Linked DNA regions of Homo sapiens: region 2 is linked to region 1. Evidence: promoter capture Hi-C in 16 types of primary human blood cells and fetal thymus (Javierre and others, 2016). All regions are on one chromosome and are shown on one strand. The core of a region is centred on a gene start or on the middle of the fragment in contact, and the rest is flanking DNA. Distances in the headings are between cores, read along the strand shown.

The links. The method cuts DNA at HindIII sites, captures the fragments that hold promoters and counts their contacts. A CHiCAGO score of 5 or more calls a contact.
Region 2: a fragment that was not itself captured here is called in contact with the fragment with the promoter of LDLRAD4 in region 1 in 1 of 17 cell types (fetal thymus); the score reaches 7.5 in fetal thymus.

Annotation. Positions count from the first base shown.
Region 1 is chr18:13,217,510-13,220,780 of GRCh38, reverse strand. It overlaps LDLRAD4 (low density lipoprotein receptor class A domain containing 4), which reads right to left and starts at 2,021. Exons shown (of 7, transcript NM_001378100.1): 1 at 1,793-2,021. RefSeq lists a silencer at 2,861-3,230. The HindIII fragment of the contact is 2,786 bases long and covers 1,851-3,271 here.
Region 2 is chr18:12,943,987-12,946,988 of GRCh38, reverse strand. No RefSeq gene overlaps it. Among named protein-coding and RNA genes, the nearest start is that of SEH1L, 2.5 kb to the left of the region's middle. The HindIII fragment of the contact is 1,374 bases long and covers 975-2,348 here.

The sequences.
Region 1 (3,271 bases), core at 772-3,271:
AGCAGCCCAGAGCAAAAACAGAGAGCGTCCCAGGAGCTATGAGGCTGGTCTGCCAGGCTGCTAAGTCAACCAAGACTACAGCACAGTCCCAAACTGTAAACACCTCTGCAGACGGGCCCTTGCTCTCCGCGTGCCAGGCAAGAAAACTATTCTTAGAACACTGTCAGCAGTTGGGGGAAAATAAATATTTGTCTATGTATGTATATACTCCAGTGGGAGTAGGGTGGGGTGCAGGAGTCTCAAATAATGTGCCAACAAATTGGCACAAAATCCCTTAATAAGCAGCTGGCACTGGCTGCGTTCCACTGCAGGATTGTGGTCTTGCAAACCAAGCCCATGAGAGGATTCAAGAGACAGCCCTAAAAACCTGCCGGGAAGAGTCTTCTCCAATGTAAATACAAACCTACACGAACCAGGACCATGGCCAACAATGGCAAGCCCTTCCAAGGGTAACAGCAGAATGTTAAGAAATTAGAGAGGTCATTTAAAACAAGGGAGGAAGGTAGCTACAATTCCATTACAGCAAATCCCTTACTGGCATTTACATTCCCAGCCCTAATTCCTAACACTGTGTTCAATGTCAATAGCAAAATGAAGCTCTTAAAAAGAATTAAGCTTTCAAAGATCATAAGGAAGTTAGCCCCCTGTTTTAAAAAGCACTGCTTAGAAAGGTCCATCAAATAACATTTCAAGGGTTGATGGGAAACCAAATATAATTCAATAAATATACATGGGTAATACTCAGACATCCTCATTTGTCTATGTAATGACTCAGATTTGACACTCTGATCCTTGACTGAACACAAAGACTATATTCCAGAAGAATTGTGCAGAGTACAAAGGGAGAGTTACAGATGACAACACACTCGAGTTAAAGACTAGAAAAGACAATACCATATACAGAATGCAGACATGACTTGATGCAATGGCAGTCTCCCTGTGCAGACTTTGCAGAACCTTCTCTGTCATTCAATACTCAGTCCTGAAGCTCCAGGGAAGATACAGAGAGGAGGATGCCATTCTTGGCTAGCCAAACCGGCAGAAAGGGCCGTTTTTAAAAGGAAGCTTCCCAGCACTAGCCCTTCGAGAAGGCACCAACCTCCTTACCAGCCATAGGACCCTATTTTTGAGAGTCAATGCTGCTCACCATCTCTATCCACCTCTACTGCAAATAACTTACTAATACTAGCGCTCAGAACCCACATTCTGTGCAGCTACTCTTACCTCACATCCTACAATGCCTAACACATAGTAGGCCCTCAATAAATATGTATTGCAATGGTAATTAACATTTAGAAAGCAGCGCTGGTCCGGGGATGAGAAGATGCCAAAATAATTAGAAAAGAGAAAAAGAGAAGGGAATAGACCAAGACACAGAGGAAAAGAAAAGAAGCAAATCAAAATTATCTAATTCTAGCTAATTAAAAAATTTTGGGGGAAAAACAAAAATCATGCTAGTTCATGCGGCTATGGGCACACAGCAACCATTCCTGTGCCTGGGCAGAGCTAAGGAGTCCTGCTTGCTTTAAAGAGCTTCTAGCTGCCCTGACTGGCGACGAGGTGTCCCTCCAGGTAGGTGACCCAAGAACGCTGTACTCTCGGATGCGCCTTCCCCCAGTGCCGCCCACCCACCATGCGTCCCTGTCGTCCTGAAAACCTCTGCCTCATCGGGAAACCTTCTCCTTTTCCAATTAAAAAAAAAAAAAAAAAAGTTTAAACAAGCAAATGCCCTCTCCGCCACGATAGCGATTTAACCTAAACCGAACCCACTGTCTTCCACCGGTGTACTCACAGGGCGCGCCCCCAGGCCCACCCGGGGCGGCGCACCGGGAAGGGGTCCCGAGGAAGCTTCCTAAAGGCTGTGCAGGGCAGACCCCTTCACAAAGGCAAGTGCCGGGCCGGGCTGGGTGCTTGTCGCTTCCTGTTTATTCCAAGGTGAGGGGCAGAGAGAAATTCAACACACGCCTGCTTCCTCCGGGGCTCGGAGACCCAGCCTAAGTGCAACAGCAGCAGCCCCAGACAATCGACTTCCCAGCCAATGCCGGGAGCTCCGGGCGGTCCCGCGACCGACGTCAACGCGCGCGGGGGGACCCGGGGGGACGCCGGGTGAAGCGGGCCCGAGGGGCCGGGGCCGGGGAGCGCGCGGTGCAGGATGCGGGACTGAGGGGCTGCGGGGCTTGGCCCGCCCCCTCCTTCCCGCAAACTCCCCGGTCAGGTCCTGCAGGATCTTCCCGCTTCCCGCTGACCTCCAGTCCCTGCCCGCCACGGCTCGCCGAGGCCTAGGGGCGCGGAGACAGTTGGGGCTGCCATCCGCGCGCCCATCCTGGCCTCCGGGCGGTGCAGAATTCAGTCTTGCAACCGCGGGACACCCTGCGCCCCAGGGCACCAGGAAACAGAAAACGGGGTGGGGGTCGGCGAAGTCCCTCCACCGGCGTAACCCCGCCCGCGGGCCAGCCCCGGATCCCCGCCGTGCCCACCGGCAAGCCCACCCGGACCAAGCCTCACAGACCTCGCGCGCTCGGCGCCCAGCTTCTCCCTCCGGCCCCAGCCGACGGCGCAGGCTCGCGGACGTCCAGTTCCCAAAGCGTCCGGTTCCCGAGTCCCCCGCCACCCCTCCCTCCGGAGCGCAGCGGTGAACTTGGGCCAGAAGCCCCGACCACTGCGGCCACCTCGGGTCCGCACTCACCTGGGCCGCCCCCCCGGAGCGGAGGCGGGGACTGCCCGCAGTGCGGCTCCGCGGCCACCGGCCCTGCTGGCCAGGGGGAGGGGCGCTGTGCGGGGCGCGGCAGGGGGCGCGCGGCGGGCCGGCGGGGAGCGCGGCGCGCCGGGGTTCTTTAAGAGCTGAGGACCTCACCCCCGGGCCTCCCCCGCGCTCCCCGCCCTGCTTCCACTTTCCCAGGCACCCGCAGCCTGTCTGGCTGCAGCGGCGGCAGCGGCTCAGTGGCTTGCAGGGGATCCCCGGCCGGCCGCGGCGGCGCGCGGAGCGGGCAGGGCCAACGCACTCGCCTGCTAATCCCGCCGGGCCCGGTCCGCAGCCTCAGCGCGGGGAGAGAGGGGACGCGGCGCTGCGGCCGCCGGGGAGGTGTCCCGCCTCCAGTCGCCGGAGGGGGGAGTGTCCCGCCTCCCGCCGCCGTCGCCGCCGTCTGTCTCCAGCCGTGACTGCGCGCCGCGGCTGTGTCTGTCTCCAACTCCTCCAGTCTCTCCTCCTCCTTCCCACTCCGCGGTGGGGACCCGGCGCGCGGCCAGGCCGCGGGTACCGGGGCCGCCGTGG
Region 2 (3,002 bases), core at 412-2,911, 270 kb after region 1:
GATGGGAGACAGTGGAAGCTTGCGTCAGGGGAGCGAAAGTACAGAAAAAAAAAAAATGAGGCTGCAGAAGGGACTTGCCCTTTGGATTTTGGCCAGGAATGACAAAAATGTGAGGTATGGTAAAATTAGCAGGCTGGAAAGTTTTTTAAATGATTAGTCCCAGCTGTCCCCTGATGGATTGCACAGAAACCTGCAAAGAGAAGTGGCGCAATGACCTGACCTTTTTCAACCATAAATAAGATTTTATTGCTACTTTAAGAGGTGGGCCCCACCTCTTATGATAACTGATAACAACTATAACTTTTTTGAAGGTCAAAGACACTCATTTCCAAAGAAAGTGCTCACTATAAAAGTCCAATCAAAATATATTGATTATTATAAAAATATCAAAACAGTTTAAAAATTGTTTTAATTAAATTTAAATACAGACAGTAAACAGATCATTGGTTGCCAGAGATTATCAGAGTGGGAGTGAAGTGTTGAATTAGGTGAAACAGTGGATTTTTTAAAATAGACTTTAGTTTTTAGAACACTTTCAGGTTCACAGCAAAATTGAGCAGAAAATAGAGTTCCCGTATGTACCCCTACTGTCACACATGCACAGCATCCTCCACTGTCAACATCCCATACCAAAGTGGTACCTTTGTTATGATCAGTGAACCTACATTGACACATCATTATCACCCAAAATTCAGAGTTTGCATTAGGGTTCACTCTTGGTGTTTTATTCTGTGGGTTTTGGCAAATATATAATGACATGGATCCACCATTATAGTATCACGCGGAATAGTTTGACTGCCCTGAAAATCCTTAGTGCTCCTGTTCATCCCTTTCTTCCGACAACACCTGGCAACCGCTGATCTTTCCACTGACTGCATGGTTTTGACTTTTCCAGAATGGCATATAATGGGAATCTTGGAGTGGCTAGCCTTTTCAGATTGGCTTCTTTCCTTATAGTAATATGCATTTAAGCTTTCTCCATGTCTTGTCTTGAGAGTTCATTTCTTTTTAGTGCTGAATAATATTCCATTGTCAGGCTGTAACAGTGTTTATTCATTCCCCAACTAAAGGGCATTCTGGTTGTTTCTGTGTTTGGGCAATTATCAATAAAGCTCCTACAAACATCTGTGTACAGGTTTTTGTGTGGACATGTTCGCAACTCCTTTGGGTAGATACCAAGAAGCATGATTGCTGGATCATATTGTAAGAGTAAGTTTAGTTTTGTTTTTTGGGGTTTTGTTTTGTTTTTTGAGACAGGGTCTCACTCTGTCATGGCAGACAATCGTGGCTCACTGCAGCTTTAAATTCCCTGGGTTCAGATGATCCTCCCACCTCAGCCTCCCGAGCAGCTGGGACTACAGGCACAGTGCCACCACACCCAGCTAATTTTTCTGTTTTTTGCAGAGATGGGGTTTCACCATGTTGAGCAGGCTGGTCTCAAACTCTTGGGCTCAAGCGATCCTCTTGCCTTGGCCTCCCAAAGTGCTTGGATTACAGGCATGAGCCACTGTGCCTGGCCTGGTTTTATAAGAAACTTACAAACTGTCTTCCAAAGTGGTCGTGTCAGCCAGGCCTGGTGGCTAAATTACCCTGTAATCCAGCACTTTGGGAGGCCGAGACGGGCAGATTATCTGAGCTCAGGAGTTCAAGACCAGCCTGGGCAACGTGGCGAGACCCGCTTCTCTACTAAAAATACAAAATAAAAATACAAAAAAATGCCCCAGGAGTGGTGGTGGAACCGAGATTGTGCCACAGGACTCCATCCTGGGCAACGCAGGGAGACACTATCTCAAAAAAAAAAAAAAAAGAGAGAGAGAATTTAACACAGGAAACTGGTTACATATATATCCAAGGGGTTAATTAAGAGCAAAAAGGGAACATGTGAGATTACCCAGAGACTAGTAACTACGGGAAACTCTGGGCTGGGAGCGTGAAAGGGAAAATAGTTTTACCCAGTGCTACCATCATTGACTCTGAGGCTGCTGACATTGGCACCTTTACCACCAGCAGGCAGAAAGCCAGGAGCCAATACTCCAGCTTACACTGCAGGCGTCCAACAGAGTAACAGCCATGGGAGCCCACAAGCTCTGAACAGCTGAGGTTCCTGGAGCCTCTGCTAGTACTGCTGGAGCTAGGGCTGAGTGCTGCTGCTACTGCTGCTGTTCACATCACCCCCGAGCAGGAAGCCAGGCTCACCCATTGCCACCACCACCACTACTCAGCTATGTGAGCTGCCTCCACAAATTGGAGAAAAGGTCTTCTTCCTCCTGCATCTGAATCCCCTACTGTCTCTCAATTCAGAACCTAACTAGAAATAGAGAGCTAATAAGAGTCTGGAAAAACAAGCTTGGAGGTTTCCAGTTCATATTCTGGAAAGAATACGACCTACAGTGAAGGCTGGGCGTGGCAGCTCACACCTGTAATCCCAACATTTTGGGAGGCTGAGGCGGGCAGATCACTTGAGGTCAGGAGTTCAAGACCAGCCTGGCCAACATGGTGAAACCCCGTTTCTACTAAAAATACAAAAATTAGCTGGGCGTGTTGGTGAGCGCCTGTAATCTCAGCTACTCAGGAGGCTGAGGCAGGAGAATCGCTCTAACCCTGGAGGCAGAGGTTGCAGTAAGCTGAGATTGCACCGCTGCACTCCAGCCTGGGCAACAGAGCGAGACTCCATCTCAAAAATATAAATAAATAAATAACCTACAATGAGTTAAGAAGCTTTCACATTTTTTTTCCTGCTCTGCGCCAGTTTAAATAGCATAGGAACTGAAAGATTCCTATGAAGATTTTGTAGAAGATTCCGTGAAGATTTTGTAGATGACGTTCACAAAATTTTATCAGCCTCATGCCTTGGGTGATGATAGGTATAGTTAATTTTAACTACCTTTTAAAATTATTTTATTCATGGCCTCTTCAGATTTTTTACCTTTTGTCAAGACAATTTTGATCATTTATATCTTCCTTTAAAAAATCAGCCATTTTGTGCTGGGCATGGTGGCTCA